Regions from separate parts of the Homo sapiens genome. Here regions 2, 3, 4, 5 and 6 are each linked to region 1. Evidence: promoter capture Hi-C in human tissues and cell types (Jung and others, 2019). All regions are on one chromosome and are shown on one strand. The core of a region is centred on a gene start or on the middle of the fragment in contact, and the rest is flanking DNA. Distances in the headings are between cores, read along the strand shown.

Region 1 (3,222 bases), core at 481-2,980:
GTAAGGATCCTTAGGGTCAAAGCCCACGTTGGTATCGATGCCAGCGGTAAACACCCCAAATGCACCTCCTAAGACAAATCCTAGAAGCAAACACAGAGATGAAGGTGTCTTTGGCATGTTTTCTGCATTACTCTATTGGGATCATCCTGGAAGGGACCATGCTTTTGGATGACCACCGGTGCAGAGGACACCCCCCTCTTGCCACTCAAACTCTCCACTTGCCTGGAGACTTGCAATCCAGGGTCTATGTTACTGACATCATCTTCTCCGTCTCTAAGATTTCTTCCTCCTGTCATTCCCTAACATTTCTCAAGATTCCATCTTTAACCCTCTATTCTCTCTACATTCTCTCATATGTAAACCAGCCACCCTCAACTTCAGCTATCAACTTTGCAAATCACTCTCTTGGCCACTGTGACATTCACAGTAATGCTTTACTGAGCACATGCCAGTATGCCACAGCCTCATTCATTCTTCACAATAATCCAGTGAGACAGATGCTATTAGCCTCTCCTTTCTATAAACTGAGGCTCAGAGAGGTTAAGCAACTTCTCCCAAGGCCACACAGCTACCTAATGGCAAATCCCACACTGCTGCCACATCTGTCCTTCCTGAGCCGGCTGGACATGTCCAGATGGATGCCCTCTCATGACCTCATGGTCAATATGAGTTTAATAAAATCATGGGCACCTCCCCTTCAACTTAAGGGAAAAACAGAAGGACAAGTGCAGACTTCGTCTCTCCTTGCTCGGGGCTGTCTAGTCACAATGGTCTTTCAGTTTTTCAAACCTCAAACAACTGCTGCCCTAGAGTCGTCTGCATGTGCATTTCCATATGTCTGCATCCTTCCTCTGCAGTGTTCCTGCTCAACATTCTTCTCCACATAGTATAATACAGGCCCCATGAAGACCAGGCTCTTGTCTCTTTCACCTGGCACGTGATATTGCTTAGGAACAATTTGTTGAAAGAATTATTTAAGAGAATGAATTTAAGGGAATGAACGGATGAATGAAGTCACCCACGTAATAACTTTTTGTTGTTGTTTTTGAGACGGAGTCTCGCTCTGTCGCCCAGGCTGGAGAGCAGTGGCACATCTCGGCTCACTGCAAGCTCCGCCTCCTGGGTTCAAGCGATTCTCCTGCCTCAACCTCCCGAATAGCTGGGACTACAGGCGCCCACCACCACGTCCAGCTAATTTTTTGTATTTTTAGTAGAGACGGGGTTTCACCGTGTTAGCCAGGATGTCATGTAATAACTTTCAGGCCCCAACCACAGCACCGATTCTCTAACCCAATTTTCATCAGGAAAGCCGGCCTGAGGGGGCAGGAGAGGTGACGCCCGATTCACGAACGAGGCGAGGGTGTGGTCAAGGTCAAGGCCCGCAGTCCCTCGCCTCCCAGGCGCGTGGTCTTCTCGGCAGAGATCCCCACTGCCGTCCAGGCCCTCAGCCTCCCAAGGGTCCCATCGCCCGGCCTCACCTCCCACGCAGGCCAGCGCAGCCTTGAAAGCGCAGCTTTCCATCGCCTTCTCGATCATCTTCTGCTCCTCACTCTTGGCTGGACTTGGGATCCCGCCCAGGCTCCCAGGCTCCAGGAGCCGGGGCTGACGCTTGTCACCCACCAGGTACTGCAGGAGCAGGCTGTACTGCAGCGGAGCTTCGGCGGAACCCGCTGTCTCAGGGGCCGAGCCTCCGGCATTGGGGGCGGCCGCCGCCATGACAGTCGCTGCCCAAGCAACCCTCGCGTCCTTCTCCCCGCAGCAGATTCGACAAGCGTCACGTTGCGGGCCCTGAGACTAGCCACTGTGATGCAACGGCAGATTCGCCGCAGGAGGAAGCCGCGGCCGCAACGCTCCTGGTGCGCACACCAGCGAGACCGCTATCATGTTTCCAAAAAGAAAGCCTCTTGTGAAAATGGAATTGGGCTTGGACAGCTTTCCCCATGTCACAGACAAACGAGATTCAGATTCACCAGAAAGCGCCCTCACGGTCGGGGCTGCAGCGCGGTGAGTACCGGGATTTGTAGTTCTAATCCGACACCCAACTACATTTCCCAGGAAGCGTTGCGCGTGCTCTCGCGCCTCGGCCCCGCGCGGGGCTCTTACGAGCTCCTGAGGGGAGCGAGGAGTGGCCGCGCGCTCCGGGGCTGCCGTGCTCCGGATCGCCGGGAGGGGACGCGCGAGCATTGTCGCTGCCCTTTCCACCTCGTGCTGTCATCGGGCGGTGAGGCGTTAAATCCCGTGGTCCCGGAAGGTGCGGTGAGAGGTGGATGCTTTGTAGATAAGCGTGAACTTGTGCTGTAAATGCACGGACCGGGCGCGGGGGCTCACGCCTGTCATCCAGCACTGTGGGAGGCCGAGGCCGGTGGATCACGAGGTCAGGAGTTCGAGACCAGTCTGACAAACATGGTGAAACCCCATCTCTACTAAAAATTAAAAAAATAAAAAATAAAAAAATTAGCTGGGCATGGTGGTGCACGCCTGTATTCTCAGCTACTTAGGAGGCTGAAGCAGGAAACCCCGTCTCTACTAAAAATATAAAAATTAGCCAGGTGGCGGCAGGCGCCTGTAATCTCAGTTACTCGGGAGGCTGAGACAGGAGAATCTCTTAAACCCGGGAGGTGGAGGTTGCAGTGAGCCAAGATCGCACCATCGCACTCCAGCCTGGGCGACAAGAGCAAGACTCCGTCTCAAAAAAAAAAAAAAAAAAAAAAAAATCCTAACTGACAGCATTTGCTGACTTGTGTGGTGTTAATATCCCCATCATGGCTGATTTCAAACTACCAAGCGAGGTCATCAGTCAGAATTGGGAAGACGTACAGCAGCATGTGGTTACATGGTGTTTCTATCACACAGATACAATCTATGGAAATAACCTCAACAGCATAGATAGGAGTACAGTGTAGTAAAATTTTTAGGAGGGGATGAGTTTTGAGCACATATTACCTATTTTTAGTGTAATTTATTATAAATGTATAGAATGTAATTTTTAATAATAACTGTGCTTAACAACCAGCTCAAAAACTCCTGATAATTTGTTGCCTTACTTTTTAAAATTACTCTTTTGAGACAGAGTCTTGCTCTGTCACCCAGGTTGGAGTGCAGTGGTGCAATCTCCGCTCACTGCAACCTGCACCTCCCGGGTTTGAGCGATTCTCCTGCCTCAGCCTCCCGACTAGCTGGGATTACAGGCACATGCCACCATGCCCGGCTAATTTTTGTATT
Region 2 (3,212 bases), core at 30-2,529, 260 kb after region 1:
TTCAACAAAATGTGCCAGGCCCTGTGCTAGATGTTAGGGTCTCAAAGCACCCTAGATGTTCTGGTTCCTAGATGGTAGGTCCCAGACACTTCTTAAAGAATTTAATGCACGTTACCCTTATTTATTTATTTTATTTTTATTTTTTGAGACGGAGTTTTGTTCTTGTTGCCCAGGCTGGAGAGCAATGGCGTGATCTCAGCTCACTGCAACCTCTGCCTCCCGGGTTCAAATGACTCTCCTGCCTCAGGCTCCTGAGTACCTGGAACTACAGATGTACAGCATCACACCCGGCTAATTTTTGTATTTTTAGTAGAGATGGGGTTTCACCATGTTGGCCAGGCTGGTCTCGAACTTCTGACTGGGATTACAGGCATGAGCCACCTCGCCCGGCCTCTTTTTTCAAGAAAGCAGTAAGCATGGTAAAATATCAGCTCTGCCACTTAGTACCACTGAGAGATATAAGAATACTCTTAGAGCCCCAGTTTCTTCATCTACAGCATAAGACTAATAGCTTCTAATATTTAGCAAGCTATGAACTTTTAAATCACATGCCTGGCAGGGCGCGGTGGCTCACGCCTATAATCCCAGCACTTTGGGAGGCTGAGACGGGAGGATCCCTTGAGCCCAGGAGTTCAAGATCAGCCTGGGCCTCATAAGGAGACCCCCATCTCTTTATTTAAAAAATAAAATAAAACTACATGCCGGCCAAGAGCAGTGGCTCACGCCTGTAATCCCAGCACTTTGGGAGGCTGAGGCAGGTGGATCACCTGAGGTCAGGAGTTTGAAATCAGCCTGACCAATATGGTGAAACCCCGTCTCTAATAAAAATATAAAAATTAGCCAGGCATGGTGGCGTGCATCTGTAAACCCAGCTGCTTGGAAGGCTGAGGCAGGAGAATCACTTGAACCCGGGAGGCAGAGGTTGCAGTGAGCCATTGCACTCCAGCCTGGGCAACAAGAGCAAAACGCCATCTCAAAAAAATGAATAACTAAATAAATGAATAATTAAAAAAAAAAACGCATGCCTTCCCCTGGCCAGGCACTCAAGAGTGAGGAATTTCCCCTCAGCTTTCCCATTGCTTTTCTTTGTTGGGTGGGCTTTTATGGGGAAATGGATCTGGGGAGAAAGTAGGAGGCTATTTGCTTTGAGAATCTGTGTTTTGTGACCTAAGAATAATCCACACAGTGCTCTCTGGCACTGTTATGTTGCTTTGTATTATATTTGTATTTTATATTGTTTTTATCTTGTATTGAACTAAGGATAGAACCTCTGACAAACGCTAGGGAATCACAGAGCGCTGGGGGTTTGTTAAAAAGAATGTTGGGGCCGGGTGCAGTGGCTCGCGCCTGTAATCCCAGCACTTTGGGAGGCCTAGGCAGGAGGATCACTTGAGTCCAAGAGTTTGAGACCAGCCTGGGCAACATGGAGAAACTCTACAAAAATTACAGGAATTAGCTGGACGTTGTAGTGTGTGCCTGTGTTCCCAGCTTCCTGGGAAGCAGAGGCAGGAGGATCACTTGAGGCCAGTAGTTTGAGGCTACAGTGAGCTGTGATCCAACAACTGCACTCCACCCGGGGTGACAGAGTGAAACCCTGTCTCAAAAAAGAAAAAGTATGTTGATGTTGATGTTGGTAAGGAGGATCATGAACGTTTCATGTGTAATGGTGTTCCTCCACTATTCACCTGGGGGAGGTGGCTCTGAAGCAGCAGGCACAAGGAGAATGGGTGCCTATGAGTGGCAAAGAAAAGAGGGGCAATCCCGACTCCTAAGTAACGGTCAAGACATCCAGCTCAGGCCGGGCGCAGTGGCTCATGCCTGTAATCCCAGAACTTTGGGAGGCCGAGGCGGGCGGATCACTTGAGTTCAGGAGTTTGAAATCAGCCTGGCCAACATGGCAAAACCCCATCTCTACTAAAAATACAAACATTAGCCGGGCGTGGTGGTGGGCACCTGCAATCCCAGCTACTCAGGAGGCTGAGGCAGGAGAATCGCTTGAACCCGGGAGGCGGAGGTTGCAGTGAGCTGAGATCACACCACTGCACTCCAGCTGGGGCGGCAGAGTGAGACTGTCTCAGAAAAAAAAAAAAAAAAAGACACCCAGCTCAACCCAGCTGCTGGTCTGCTGTCCTGGAAGGCCATACCTGTGCGACTGGCACAAGGACAAAGAGAATGACCGCATGATGTGTGATCATGAGGCGGTTTCGACTTAGGAAGTTTCGAAGAGTGAGGGAGGGCGCACGGTTCTGGTCTCTGGTTCGGCACCATTCACAGAGGTACATGGCGTACGAGTCATAGATCATGTATGGAATCAGAAACCACACATATTCCCGGGCAAGCCAGTGCCTGAAAGAAAGCATATGAATGGCCCGTGAAATCATTGTGGATATCCATTATGAAGGCTCACAGCCAAGCTTGGTGCTTGATCAGCTATTATTATTCCAAATACTTTACAATAAAGATGTTGAAACTGATAAACAGGGAGAGTAGACCACTTGCTCTCAGTTTCAGGGCCAATTCGTGAGTGTCAAAGGCAAAAAGCAGGCATTCACTCAGCCCTGCCTGTTGAAGCAGCTTGCTGTCACTACTTGCCTGACTTAGCTACTAATTTGTAGTAGATGTTCTGGCATTTTGTGATAAAACTGATTTTGATATAGATAGATATACAAATGATTCAACGGCCCCACCAAGAAGCTGGTTTGGAAAGTGTCCCAAATCACAAATCCAACATTTCTAGTTTAACTCCTTAGCTGCTCAACAGTTGGGGGTTTTACTAACTTAAATCCTGGAACCTGTGAGTTTTCTCTTGTCTGCATGCAACCCCACTCTATGGAGTTTCTGGGAGGCAACCCTGGCCATTTTCTTTACAATTCTAGAGCTGGCCGGGTTCGGTGGCTCACACCTGTAATCTCAGCACTTTGGGAGGCTGAGGCGGGTGGATCACTTGAGGTCAGGAGTTCAAGATCAGCCTGGCCAACATGGCGAAACCCCGTCTCTACTAAAAATACAAAAATTAGTCAGATGTGGTGGCGCACACCTGTAGTCCCAGCTACTTGGGAGGCTGAGGCAGGAGAATCACTTGAACCCGGGAGGCGGAGGTTGCAGTGAGCCGATATTGCGCCACTGCACTCCAGCCTGGGCGACAGAGTGAGATTCCATCTAAAAAAAACAAAAACAAAAAAACCCAAAAAGCAATTCTAGAGATAATCTCA
Region 3 (3,116 bases), core at 150-2,649, 330 kb after region 1:
GTGATTCTCATGCCTCAGCCTCCGGAGTAGCTGGAACTATAGGCATGTACTAGCACACACAGCTAATTTTTTTAGTATTTTTAGTAGAGACGGAGTTTCGTCATGTTGGTCAGACTGGTCTTGAACTCCTGGCCTCAAGTAATCCACCGTCAGCCTTGCAGCGTGCTGGGATTATAGGTGTGAGCTACTGCCCCCCCGGCCAACCACGTTTTTATTTTAAAAAGTGTCTAGGGACAGTGCCAGAGTGATTCTTTCAGCACATTTCTGATTAGCCAGGTAGTGAAGGTATTTTTGTGTTTCTTAAAAAAACCTTAACTTCTTGTAGGACCCATGATTCTTCCAGTTGCAAAACAATCTTTCTATATGACTCATGATCAGAGGTTAGATGTCAAATATTAGGGTGTGTGTTGAGAATGGACTTGCCTGATAGCACCAGTGCTTCAGAGGAGTTTTTAAACTCTGCAAAATGAATTATAGTACATTTCCCCAACTTCAGTACCTTATTAAAACAAGCAAAAGTATTCCAGCCCGAAAAAAGTCTGGCACATAGTTTATCTATCTTGGAGACTGTGACATGTAAGATTGTGTGAGTCTTATTTGTTTGCTGGAAGAAAAAAGCGATACCTTCAGCAGAGACAGTTCTGGTAGGATGCCAGGTTTAATGTAAGAGAGAAAGGGATAGAAACCCTTTCTCTGAGATAGGATCATGCAGACTTCTTCATATGTGAGACCTAAGTGTATAACTTAGCCCCTTTTTTGCCTTTCTTAGCTGCATGTCATATGTTTTAGGGTGTTTGTCTAGAACACAGTAGCTATGGTCCCATTAGCATGTCACCATAACATGACATGACCTGCAGTATCACAGAATTCCATGTGAGCTGTGTCGAAAAAGATCAGTCCTTTCTAGTGGTCAGTTGCCTACAGAGGCCTCTGTTGCACTTTTTACTCCACGATTGAAACTTTTTTAGAATTTACTGATCCCATGTAGCATCTTGGATATTAGACTCTGTTTAAGCCAAATAGAGAATACTTACAGAAAGCATGAAGCTGTGATTTTGAACCACTGCTCATGGTTGGGCCTGAAGTTAGAGGAATGGTTATGAGCGCACTTATTCAGAGCGGTAGCCTCAGCACCAGCACTCTTACAGGTGCACCATGATACTTTTAATCAGTGGGCAATATTTGTCAAGGTCCCACTGTGCCATAGCCTTGCTTAGGTGCTGTAGGTGAGGTGACCATATGATTTATCACCAGAGTCACTTTGAGAAGGAGAGGGAGCTGTTAATAACTATACTGAATCATAAACGCAGCGTGTCCCCGGTAAACCAAATGGATGATTGGCTCAGCTATGGGCTCTATAGGAGTGCTGTTCATATCCTTGGTCCCCATTCTAAAGGATACTTATAACCCTGCTAAAGGGCTAATACTCATACACTAAACCAGTGGTCCCCAACCTTTTTGGCACCAGCGAGCAGTTTTTTGGAAGACAGTTTTTCCATGGACCAGGGAGGGGGACATGGTTTCAGGATGAAACTGTTCCACCTCAGATAATCAGGCCTTAGTTAGATTCTGTTAAGGAGCTTGCAACCTAGATCCCTCGCGTGTGCAGTTCACAGTAGGGTTCGCGCTCCTATGAGAATCTAATACCGCTGCTGATCTGAGGAGGGGGAGCTCAGAAGATCATGCTCACTCACTTGCCCACCGCTCACCTCCTGCTGTGCGGCCCAGTTCCCAACAGGCCACGGACTGGTGCTGGCCCACGGCCCAGGGCTTGGGGTCCCCTGCACTAAACAATTCAAGAACATTATGTTTAAAAAAGTCCTCTTCTGTAATTAACCCATTGCCCCCCCCCCCAGAACATTATGTTTAAAACAGTCCTCTTCTGTAATTAACCCATTGCCCCCTCCGCAGAACATTATGTTTAAAACAGTCCTCTTCTGTAATTAACCCATTGCCCCCCCCAGAACATTATGTTTAAAACAGTCCTCTTCTGTAATTAACCCATTGCCCCCCCCAGAACATTATGTTTAAAACAGTCCTCTTCTGTAATTAACCCATTGCCCCCCCAAATAAATTTCTCTCCTGCTAAATCACTCCCAAGCAGACGTATGCAAGCATTTCTCATCTTTAAAAATTACTCCCTTTACGCCATCTTTTGCCCTATTTTTCTTCCTTTCTCATAGCAAAAACTTCTTGAAAAAAAAAGTCTATACCAGGGTCAGCAAGCTTTCTGTTAAGGGCTGGATAGTAAATATTTTAGCCTTTACTGACCATATGGTCTCTGTTGTAACTATTTATCTCTGCCATTGTGTGGCAAAAGTCCCCATAAACAATACTTAAACAAATGAGTTTGGTTTAAGTATTATTAATGAGTTTCGGTCCAAAAACACATTGTTTACAAAAACAGGTGGCAGACGTGGCAGACTGGCTTCAGCCCACAGGCCATCATTTGTGGCCTGCTCTGTGATCACAGCCTCTACTTCATGTCATCGCTGTCCATTCCCTTGACTGCATTGAGACTGCTCTTGTCAAGGTCACCAACAACTTCCCTGTTGTCAAAATCAGTAGCAGCTGTCTTCATTTTTTTTTTTGAGATGGAGTCTTGCTCTGTCGCCTAGGCTGGAGTGCAATGGCACCATCTTGGCTCACTGCAGCTTCCGTTTCCTGGGTTCAAGCAATTCTCCTACCTCAGCCTCCTGAGTAGCTGGGATTACAGGTGCACACCACCATGCCTGGCTAATTTTTGTATTTTTAGTAGAGACAGGGGTTTCACCATGTTGGTCAGGCTGGTCACAAACTCTTGACCTCATGATCCACATGAGTTTTTTGTTGTTGTTGTTGTTTTGAGATGGAGTTTTGCTCTTGTTGCCCAGGCTGGAGTGCAGTGGCACGATCTTGGCTCACTGCAACCTCTGCCTCCTGGGTTCACGCGATTATCCTGTCTCAGCCTCCTGAGTAGCTGGGATTACAGGCGCCTGCCACCACGCCCGGCTAATTTTTGTATTTTGAGTAGAGACAGGGTTTCATCATATTGGTCAGGCTGGTCTTGAACTCCTGACCTCAGGTCATCCACCCGCCCTGGCCTCCCAAAGTGCTGGGATTATAGGCCTGAGCCA
Region 4 (3,444 bases), core at 551-3,050, 390 kb after region 1:
TGATTTCCAATAACACATTATGTTTTAAAAACGAGGCCCATCTTTATGTAATTGTGAGGTGCTGTTATCAACCCAATAGACTTAGCAATAGATGAGGGGCATTTAGTTCAAAAACTCAAATTCTGTGTCTGTCACTGAATGATTTTGATCAAAGCTTTTAACTTCAGTTAGCTGACTTGCTTTTCATATCTACAAAGGACCAAAAGACTTAGAATCATAGTGACTCAGCTCAACAGCATAATCCCAGAGCCCACTGTTAAGCCAGTGGAATCAGGAGTCTAATGCTATTACCTAATTTAATTTTTTTATGGTTGTTGAAGATTAAGCTTGGTAGATTCCCTTTATTACTATTCCTCTCTCTCTAAAATATCAGCAGCCCTTAAGAAGACAACTCAAGCTTAGAAATACTGCTTTCTAACAAGAGCTGTACATTTTTAAGGATTTTTTTTCTCTCATGTTAGGTAAAGAAGCCAAAGTTTGGAGTGTGCAAATGTGAAATACTTGCTTGGGTGTTAGACCATATTGTTTATCACCAGGATACCACAAAAACCATCATCTTACTACTGATTACCTCGAGCTAATGCCATCACCACAAGGCTTTGTCATGCACCGAGGCTGTATCTGTCCACATCACTTGCATCCAAGTGTTTTGGCCAAAAAATAAGCAGTTATTAAATGACTGTTAGCAGTATTGTCTTAAACCAAAAACCAGACGCAGGTGTAGTGCTTTTGTGCAATGTATTTATTTTATTGTATTTTATTTTTGAGACGGAGTCTCGCTTTGTCACCCAGGCTGGAGTGCAGTGGTGCCATCTTGGCTCACTGCAACCTCCACTTCCTGGATTCAAGCAATTCTTGTGCCTCAGCCTCCCAAGTAGCTGGGATTACAGGCGCCTACCACCACGCTGCTAATTTTGGTATTTTTAGTAGAGACAGGCTTTCACCATGTTGTTCAGGCTGGTCTTGAACTCCTGACCTCAAGTGATCCGCCGCCTCAGCCTCCCAAAGTGCTGGGATTCCAGGTGTGAGCCACTGCACCCGGCCTTTGTGTAAGTTTTGGTTTTATTTTTGTTTGTAATAGCTTCAGATGGTGTCCTGGCACTTGGCAAAGTTATTCACGCTATAGTCCATCTGCTGTCCCTTTTGGCTTAGAGATTAATTCAGATTGACCCACTGGTATTGGCTAAAATACCAAGTACATTTAGAAACTCCCTCTCCATTAACTTCTCGTCTCCAGAGAGCCATGCCTTGCCCCCTTCCCTCGTCCCCAGCACCAAGCAGTCCCTCTTTTCTGTTTGTCCAGTTGGCCTCCTTTCTGCTAAAGCCTTCAGCTCCCAGGCATAAACAACATCTCTAGGTGAAAACTGTAAAGGAATTCCAGAGAGCTGCCTTGATTCTGTAGTTGTACTGGAATTAACGTCATCAGTGACCCTTGTGTGTATCATGTGCTGCTTCTAGGGTTTCACATTTGATCCTCCAGATAGTCCTGTGACTACATCCTCATTCAGCAGATGAAGTTACTGAGGCTCAGAGAAGCTGGGTGATAGGGCCAGTGCCGCACGGTTGGAGCTACAGCTACCATGCCTCCTGCCTGCAGCCTTCCCACTGGCCCATGTTTCCACTCCGTGATGTATTTTGAAATAGTGGTCATATTTGGAAGCTGAGAAGTCGATTTTCTCAAGGAGATTTCTGTTGTGGTTGTTGTAATGGGGCTTACTTGGGAAGAGACATCTGTTAATCTAGAACACATGAGATTAGTTTTGTAGTTTGTTCTTGCGTTGAAATCCATCTGGCACTTTGATTCATTTCTATTTACTGAGGACCTGCTACATGCTAGGCACTGAGATAGGATGGGGAACAAGACAGACACAATCTCTGCCATCATGGAGGCCAGAAGGGAAAAGACAAATAATGGGCAATTGCTATATTTTAATAAATGCCTGGGTAGGAGACATGTAGCTTGGTTTGGGAACACGTGTCAGGGACATCTGACCCAAACCTGACAGATGGGAAAGGCTTCCCAGCAGAACGGAGTTCCGGTTTGAGGACTGAGGATGCGTGAGCGTTTTAGCCAGATTCGAGTTGGGGCGGGGTGGTCGGGGAGGTTGCAGGAAGAGGGAAAGCACTGTGAAGGCCCGGAGGCAAGAATGTGGTCTGGGTTGCCTCAGTTCTTCTTTATCAGATAGCGTGCATGACTTCCTTGTTGGAGACACCTAGAAAAAGCAGATCAATGGGGAAAGCTATTGAATATGCTCAGAAAACACTTCTCTTTCTCATATCTACCTAACAGAAAAAGCTTGAGTCTCCACCCCCATCTACCAATCCCTTCCTGGAAGATGAGCCAACACCAGAGATGGAGGAACTGGCAACGGAGAAAGGAGATTTAGATCAAGTAAGTCTGGTTTGCGTCACCACGGGTAACCTACCCAATGTGCGTTTCTGAAAATCGGTCTGCTTGCTCCAGATACGATCCTTTGGCTCTTGGCCACGTTCAGAGATGACAGCTGTTGTGGTCTTTACAGAAGGCCTTTATCTGAAAGTGCATGTAGAAAACTCCATGAAAGGGCAGACTTCCCTGCCCACATCTCTGCTCCTGAAGAGCCCCGCCTCCAGGACACACACAAGCTTCATTAGCCACTGTGGTGGGGCCAGGAGAGTTCTGCTCTGCCTCATTCAGCATCTCCTGAGCTTGTCAGCTGAGTTTTTGGTTTGACTGTCATCTGGTACAGTGATGATGAGAGAGGCTGAACAATCCCCGGGAAGCCAGCAGCACCCTCGGCTAGGAGAGGCCTCCATGCAGTGTAAGCTGATCACTTTAGGTCTGGAAGCCATTGGGGAGGCCTGGAAATGTCAAGGTGGCCAGTGGCATATTTGAAGAGTTACTTTTCAGAGCACACTAACACTTTAATTTCCTTTGGATTTTTCTGTCCAAGTCTAAATTTCCTCTCCCTTCATCCTACAGAATGGTGTTTTTGGTTAACTGCCATGTTATGACAAGGGAGGTTAGAGCAATAAATCAGAACGTTTCCCTTCTAGATTAGTGATCCCTGTTTTTAATTGTCTACACTTGGCTGCTGGAGGATTATTTTACGGTATTGTTTTGCTCCAGACACCACCAAAAGGGAGGCTGGCTGGGAGGACCAGCTCTGAGAAACCTGTAACCATGTACTTTGCAGCTAGCCCTGCATTCATTCTTTCCCAGCACCACAAGGGCAGGAGCCAAGAGAGCAGAGCTTCCAGGAGCAGTTCTGAAATGATGCAATCAAATGTGTCTGGTCCCTTGATTAAATGATTGTAATAGAATGGATACTCACACTTTTATAGTCCTTTGCACTTTTAAATTCTTTTACATGCTTTATGTTATCGTCACAATTCCTGCCTCTTGCTTTATAGGTGATGAAACTGCAGCTCAGAGAGGTTAAGTGGTTGGCCCAGGGTTGCACA
Region 5 (3,508 bases), core at 1-2,500, 310 kb after region 1:
GTGGGATTTTGAATTTGTCATTGTCAGCTCACTAGAAGGAGACTTTATATTCTTATCCTCCCTCACTTTAAATTGATCCTTTCTCTCATCCTCTCTTGGGAGGAAAATGAAGCCCATTGATTGATAAAAATTGAAGAAAGTAATTGGTATTAGTATTAAAGGGACCACAAATAGTTTGGAAAAAAATGGCAATTGCTACTTGCTTCTTCCTACTAAAACATACCACAGCTAAAGCGACTGAGCTTTTAGAGTATGGCCTCGAAGTTTCCCATTAGTGGCCAAGATTGGCTGGACATTTTTTGTTTCTTTTCTGTTATTATTTTTTGCGTTGTACTTTTCAGCATGTCTGCAAATAACACTAAACTTCAGGAATTGCTGAGGTTTGGACATGACCTGGGAGTGCCCTGAACACCGTGATCTGTGGGGCAGCCCTGGAGTCGGGTTGTTAGATCAGCCTTTTGTAGGGGCAGAGTTTTGATTCGGGCTCACAGTCATTTCCCAACCAGGATTTCTTACGTCTAGTGCAGAGGTCAAGGTTGGCTTGCCTTTGTCAAGTTGAATCCGGTGACTGTTCATTTTGCCTGCTTCTAGAGTGCTACTGGTTGTAGTTGAGGCGGGGCGGGCGACTGTTCATTTTGCCTGCTTCTAGAGTGCTACTGGTTGTAGTTGAGGCGGGGACTCATAAAATGTCCGTTAACTGTTTAACAATGTAGTGCAACTGGGTTTGGCCTCACTACCATTCTTCATCCTGTTTATTGCACACAAGCCTTGTGTATTAGTCCGTTCTCACACTGCTATGAAGAAATACCTTAGACGGGGTAATTTATAAAGGAAAGAGGTTTAATTGACTCACATTTCTGCAGGGCTGGGGATGCCTCAGGAAACTTACAATCATGGTGGAAAGGGAAGCAAACCCATCCTTCTTCACAAGGTGGCAGGAGAGAGGAAGAATGAGAGCTGAGCGAAGGGGGAAGCCTCTTACAAAACCATCAGATCTTGTGAGAACTTACTATCACGTGAATAGAATGGGAGAAACCACCCCGTGGTTCAGTGACTTCCCACCAGGTCCCTCCTATGACATGTAGGGATTTGGGTGGGGACACAGCCAAATCATATCACCTTGATAGCGCTTTTTTGGCAGGGAGACATGTCTGCGGCATATTTGGAACACTTTGCCACGTATCCTCTAAAATCCCTCATTTTTAGAAAAGCTATAAGGAATCCAAATAGCTATCTTCTCTCCTCTATGTACAGTGAAGGACTGGGCATTTTATTTCAATTCTCTAAGGATTGGTGTAGTTAGATATCTTCAGTGATGTAACATTGGATGGCATCTTGGTAAAGTGAAAAAAACTTGAGCTTTGAATTTAAATTTTGTCTCTGCTGTTATCTGTGTGACCTTGGACAAGATATTTAACTTTCCATCTGTGACATGGAGATAATAATACGTACCTCAGGGTTAGGGGGGATTAGAATTAATATACTTTATTTTATTTATCCACTTATTTATTTATTTGTTTTTGAGACAGGGTCTTACTTTGTTGCCCAGGCTAGAGTGGAGTGGTGCAATCACAGCTCGCTGCGCCCTCAACCTCGTGGGCTCAAGTGATCCTCTCACTTCAGCGTCCCGAGTAGCTGGGACCACAGGCACATGCCACCATGCGCATCTTTTTTTTTTTTTTTTTGAGACTGAGTCTTGCTCTCTCTCCAGGCTGGAGTGCATTGGTGCGATCTTGGCTCACTGCAGCTTCTGCCTCCTGGGTTCAAGCAATTCCCCTGCCTCAGCCTCCTGAGTAGCTGGGACTACAGGCATGTGCCACCACGCCCGGCTAATTTTCTGTATTTTAGTGGAGATGGGGTTTCCCCATGTTGGCCAGGATGGTCTCGATCTTCTGACCTCATGATCTGCGTGCCTCAGCCTCCCAAAGTGCTGGGATTACAGGTATGAGCCACCGCACCTGGCTTTTTTTTTTTGAGCTGGAGTCTTGCTGTGTCACCCAGGCTGGAGTGCCGTGTTACGATCTCTGCTCACTGCAACCTCCGTCTCCTGGGTTCAAGTGATTCTCCCTGCCTCAGCCTCCCAAGTAGCTGAGATTACAGGCGACCACCACCACGCCTGGCTAGTTTTTATATTTTTGGTAGAGACAGGGTTTCACCATGTTGGCCAGGCTGGTCTTGAACTTCTGATCTCAGGTGATCTGCCCACCTTGGCCTCTCAAAGTGCTGGGATTACAGGCGTGAGCCACTGCGCCCAGCTAATGTAATTTTTAAGTATTGTGTAGATGAGGTCTCGCTATGTTGCCCAGGCTAGTCTCAAACTCCTGGCCTCAAGCAATCCTTCTGCCTCAGCCTCCTAAAGTGCTGGGATTACAGGCATGAGCCACCACATCTGGCCTAGAATAAATGTATTTTAAAACACCTTTTTTGCACAATGTTGGGCTCACTCATGTTTAGTAAATGGCAGGAACACCAGTGCTGCTGATACACAGTCCACTGGAATTTCAGTTTTCCTAGTTCCGTGCATCCAGGTATTTGTCGAGTTCCTGTGGCTTTTCCGTCAGCTCCATCAGCTCCTCTCCAGCCCCACTGCTGTGCTTTAAAGCAACTCCAGGTTTACTTGTTCTGAATTATCCCAGGCCCCTTACTGCCTTCAGCGTGCTGTTCTCTGTGAATAAAAATGGCGGCACAGCTTACCTATGGTCCAGAATATCTGCTGTGGCAACAGTGGTGGTCAAAGGTTCATTTCTCTTGTCCTGTCTTCAAGACCTCCATTAGATGTTTGCCTGGCGTGACATGCAATATCACCCTATAGTTAAAATAAACATTCCACTTGACAACAGAATTTATTATTTGTATTGTTTTTGAAATTTGAGACTGCAGATAGATTTTTTTTCATTTCTAGTTTTTATAACTTCCAAATTCTTCTTTTTTTTCTTCTTAGAGACAGGGTCTCACTCTGTCATTCAGGCTGGAATGTAATGGCAGGATCGTAGCTCACTCTAGCCTTGAACTCCTGGGCTCACGTGATCCTTCCACCTCAGCCTCCCAAGTAGCTAGGACTACAGGTGCACACCACTATGCCTGACTGTTTTAAAACACTTTTTGTAGAGATGGAATCTCACTGTGTTGCCCAGGCTGGTTTAGAACTCCTGGCTTCAGGTGATCCTCCCACCTACGCTTCCCAGAGTGCTGGAATTACAGGCATGAGCCACTGCAACCAGCCAATTCTCTTCTCTCTCTGTTTTTTTTTTTAGAGACAGGGTCTCGCTCCAGGGTCATCCAGGCTGGAGTGTGGCGTGCATAGCTCACTGTCTCAAACTCCTGGCCTCAAACGATCCTCCCACCTCAGACTTCCAAGTAGGTAGGACTACAAGTGCATGTCACCATGTCTGGCTAATTTTTTAATTTAAAAAGTTTTTTTTTGTAGTGATGGGGTGTTCCTTTATTGCTCTGGCTGGTCTTGGACTCCTTACCTCAAGCGATCTTCCTGCCTCAGCCTCCTGAGTGG
Region 6 (3,243 bases), core at 699-3,198, 440 kb after region 1:
TCACTGTGTTAGCCAGGATAGTCTCGATCTCCTGATCTTGTGATCTGCCCGTCTTGGCCTCCCAAAGTGCTGGGATTACAGACGTGAGCCACTGTGAGTAGCTGGGACTACAGGCACCCGCTACCACACACAGCTAATTTTTTGTATTTTTAGTAGAGACGGGGTTTCACTGTGTTAGCCAGGATGGTCTCAATCTCCTGACCTCGTGATCCACTCACCTTGGCCTTCCAAAGTGCTGGGATTATAGGCGTGAGCCACCATGCCCAGCCAAAATTTTGCTTTTATAGATAATCCTGGCAGGGTACAGTGGCTCACGCCTGTAATCCTAGCATATTGGGAAGCCAAGGTGGAAGGATCGCTTGAGGCCAATAGTCCAAGACCAGCCTGGGTAACATAGTGAGACCTGGTCTTTACAAAAAATTTAAAAGTTAGTTGAGTGTGGTGGTACATGCCTGTGGTCTCAGCTACTTGGGAAGCTGAGGTTGGAGGATCGCTTGAGCCTGGGAGGTCAAAGCTGCAGTGAGCTATGATCACACCACTGCACTCCAGCCTGGGTGACAGAGTGAGACCCTGTCTCTAAAAAAAAAAAAAAAAAAAAAGATAATCCTTACAAAGAATGTCTTTCTGAATATAGCATCTTAAATGTTTTGCATTAGTTTTCTAGAACAGACTCTTAGAAGTTCTAGAAATAAGTTGAAGACCATTTTGATGACTGATGATACAAGTGGCCAATTATTTTTTATTTAGTGAAAATTGTTTTTATTGATTACAAAAGTAATACATTCTTAGCACCTTTATTGTGATCTCTAAATACAATTTTCCACTAAAAGAAACCAGAGATTCCTGGAGAAATGACTAATTCCAGGTCAAGGGCAGGAAATCTACAAGATGAATCAGAACATCATGTTACACAAAAAGCAAGAAAAATATCAAAGACTATTAGTGTCATCTCAAGAGGACCCAGGGAGATATAGTGGGTTGAAGTGTCCCCCCAACCCCAAAATATGTCCAAGTCCTAGGCCTTGGGACATGTAAATGTGACTTTATCTTGGTAAATGTAATTAAGTATCTCAAGATGAGATGGTCCTGGATTTAGGATTGGTGGGGGGCCTTATCTAATGACTGTTGTCCTTAGAAAGGAGAGAGAGATTGAACACACAGAGATACAGGGAAGAAGGCCGTGAGAAGGAGGCAGAGGCTGGAGTCAGACTTCTATGAGCCAAGGAACATCAAGGATTGCCAGCAAACACCCAAAGCTAGAAGAGAGGTGTAAATAGTTTTTTCCTCAGAGCTTCCAGAAGAGTGGGGGCGCGGTGGCTCATGCCTATAATCCCAGCACTTTGGGAGGCTGAGGAGGGTGGATCACTTGAGGTCAGGAGTTTAAGACCAGTCTCGTCAACATGGCAAAACCCCGTCTCTACTAAAAGAATACAAAAATTAGCCGGGTGTGGTGGCTTCTCACTTGGCAGTCTCATTCCCCAAGCCTCAGGTCCCCGCTTCAGTATCACCTCCTCAGAGAGCCCCTCCTGGCCACCCCCCTTCAGCAGAGAGGCCCTCCTGGCCACCCCCCTTCAGTAGGTAGCTCCCTTATTCCAGCACTGCCAAATTTATTTCCTAACACCACAAAACCGAAGTTACGTCTCGGCTGGCTTACTTCCTTATTATCTGGCGCCCCCATTAGTTTTAAGTTACATGCCAGAAAGTCTACTTTGTTCACCTCTGTTCATTAGCACCAAATACAATGCCTGGTACGTAATAAGTGCTTAATAAAGATCTCTTGAAGGAATAAAAGAGCCCACTCCTGAGATAATGGCATTAACCCATGATGATGCCAGAGCCCTCATGACCTCATACCTCTCAACACTGTGGCTTCAGGGATTAAGCTTATAACCCATAAACTTTGGAGAACACAATCAAACCACAGAACGATGTTATGAATTGCTATTGTAAATAGTTTTTAAAAAACATAAACTACACTTTTAAGGATACTTTTACATTTACAGAAAAATTGCAAAGATCGTTTGTATGGTTCCCATATACCACTTACCCAGTTTCCCATATTATTAACATTGATATGAAATATTTGTTACAATTAATGAACCAATAATGATGTATTATTGGTGTTGCTTTTAAATTTTATTTTCCAATTCCTTGTTGCTCAGATTCTTTTTGTTTAATATGGGGTCTCAATCTGTTGCCCAGGCTGGAGTGCGGTGGTTTGATCACAGCTCACTGAAACCTGGAACGAAAGCGATCCTACCCTCAGCCTCCCAAGTGGCTGGGACTACACTGGGACTTCAGGCACCTGCCACCATGCCTGGCCAGTATTTTTTTATTTTTTGTAGAGATAGGGTCTCACTGTGTTGCTCAGGCTGGTCTTGAGCTCCTGGGCTCAAGTGATCTTCTTGCCTCAGCCCCCAAAGAGTTGGGATTACCGGGTGAGCCACTGGGTCCAGCCTGCTCAGATTATTAAGTCTCTGGTTTCTTCTTCCATTTCCCTTTGCCCCCTCTGCAATCTTTTCTTAAAGAAACTGTGTTGTTTGCCCTGTAGATTTTCCCAAGTTTTGGATTTTCCTGATTGCACCCACGAGTATTAATGGACATTTTACTTTGTCTCGTATTTCCCATAAATTGGTAGTTAGATGTAGAAGCCTGAGCTGATTCAGATTCTTTTTTACAGAAAACTACATCATAATGATGTTTTGTACGTCTGTCATCAAGATACATAATGTTTGGTTGCTCTTTGTGTGATGTCAGCAGCCTCTGATGCTCAAAGCCCAGATCCATTATTCCATTAGGAGGTATAAAGAATGATACTCTGGCCGAGTGCAGGGGCTCACGCCTGTAATCCCAGCACTTTGGGAGGCCGAGGTGGGTGGATCACCTGAGGTCAGGAGTTCGAGACCAGCCTGGCCAACATAGTAAAACCCCCGTCTCTACTAAAAATACAAAAATTAGGGCCGGGCGTGGTGGCTCACGTCTGTAATCCCAGCACTTTGGGAGGCTGAGGCGGGTAGATCACGAGGTCAGGAGTTTGAGACCAGCATGGCCAACATGTGGCCAAAAAGTGAGGAGCCTGGAGGGCTTAGAAAGTGGGGGTGCGGCAAAGCAAGGCAGTGGGTCAGCAGGGCTGAGCAGGCCATGTTTCAGGGAGAGGAATAAGGAAGTGTGAAGTATGAAGGTCCTGAGGGCGAAGGACCCTGGTGTCTCCCAGAAATTTAAAAGGCCAGTGTAACTGAAGCC

What was found. The method cuts DNA at HindIII sites, captures the fragments that hold promoters and counts their contacts. A contact is called where the count stands out against the background at its distance.
Region 2: a fragment that was not itself captured here is called in contact with the fragment with the promoter of TIMM22 in region 1 in 5 of the 25 tissues and cell types used here (IMR-90 fibroblasts, aorta, dorsolateral prefrontal cortex and 2 more).
Region 3: a contact is called between a fragment that was not itself captured here and the fragment with the promoter of TIMM22 in region 1, in 1 of the 25 tissues and cell types used here (lymphoblastoid cells).
Region 4: a fragment that was not itself captured here is called in contact with the fragment with the promoter of TIMM22 in region 1 in 3 of the 25 tissues and cell types used here (H1 embryonic stem cells, bladder and thymus).
Region 5: a contact is called between a fragment that was not itself captured here and the fragment with the promoter of TIMM22 in region 1, in 3 of the 25 tissues and cell types used here (dorsolateral prefrontal cortex, lymphoblastoid cells and mesenchymal stem cells).
Region 6: a contact is called between a fragment that was not itself captured here and the fragment with the promoter of TIMM22 in region 1, in 2 of the 25 tissues and cell types used here (dorsolateral prefrontal cortex and lymphoblastoid cells).

Annotation. Positions count from the first base shown.
Region 1 is chr17:995,637-998,858 of GRCh38, reverse strand. TIMM22 (translocase of inner mitochondrial membrane 22) reads right to left here and starts at 1,730. Exons shown (of 4, transcript NM_013337.4): 1 at 1,479-1,730; 2 at 1-80. The coding sequence starts at 1,716. RefSeq lists an enhancer at 1,017-1,708. The HindIII fragment of the contact is 16,003 bases long and covers 1-3,222 here.
Region 2 is chr17:736,980-740,191 of GRCh38, reverse strand. TLCD3A (TLC domain containing 3A) reads right to left here. Exons shown (of 5, transcript NM_024792.3): 3 at 2,145-2,346. Among named protein-coding and RNA genes, the nearest start is that of TLCD3A, 6.0 kb to the right of the region's middle. The HindIII fragment of the contact is 5,610 bases long and covers 1-3,212 here.
Region 3 is chr17:666,394-669,509 of GRCh38, reverse strand. The region is part of intron 4 of VPS53 (VPS53 subunit of GARP complex); the gene reads left to right. Among named protein-coding and RNA genes, the nearest start is that of VPS53, 47 kb to the left of the region's middle. The HindIII fragment of the contact is 7,961 bases long and covers 1-3,116 here.
Region 4 is chr17:600,743-604,186 of GRCh38, reverse strand. VPS53 (VPS53 subunit of GARP complex) reads left to right here. Exons shown (of 22, transcript NM_001128159.3): 12 at 2,291-2,392. Among named protein-coding and RNA genes, the nearest start is that of VPS53-AS1, 80 kb to the right of the region's middle. RefSeq lists an enhancer at 1,900-3,099. The HindIII fragment of the contact is 3,119 bases long and covers 241-3,359 here.
Region 5 is chr17:685,752-689,259 of GRCh38, reverse strand. The region is part of intron 4 of VPS53 (VPS53 subunit of GARP complex); the gene reads left to right. Among named protein-coding and RNA genes, the nearest start is that of VPS53, 27 kb to the left of the region's middle. The HindIII fragment of the contact is 7,720 bases long and covers 1-3,508 here.
Region 6 is chr17:555,212-558,454 of GRCh38, reverse strand. All of the region lies in intron 15 of VPS53 (VPS53 subunit of GARP complex), which reads left to right. LOC124903891 (a long non-coding RNA gene) reads right to left here and starts at 2,571. Exons shown (of 2, transcript XR_007065571.1): 1 at 2,436-2,571; 2 at 2,115-2,239. The HindIII fragment of the contact is 3,663 bases long and covers 117-3,243 here.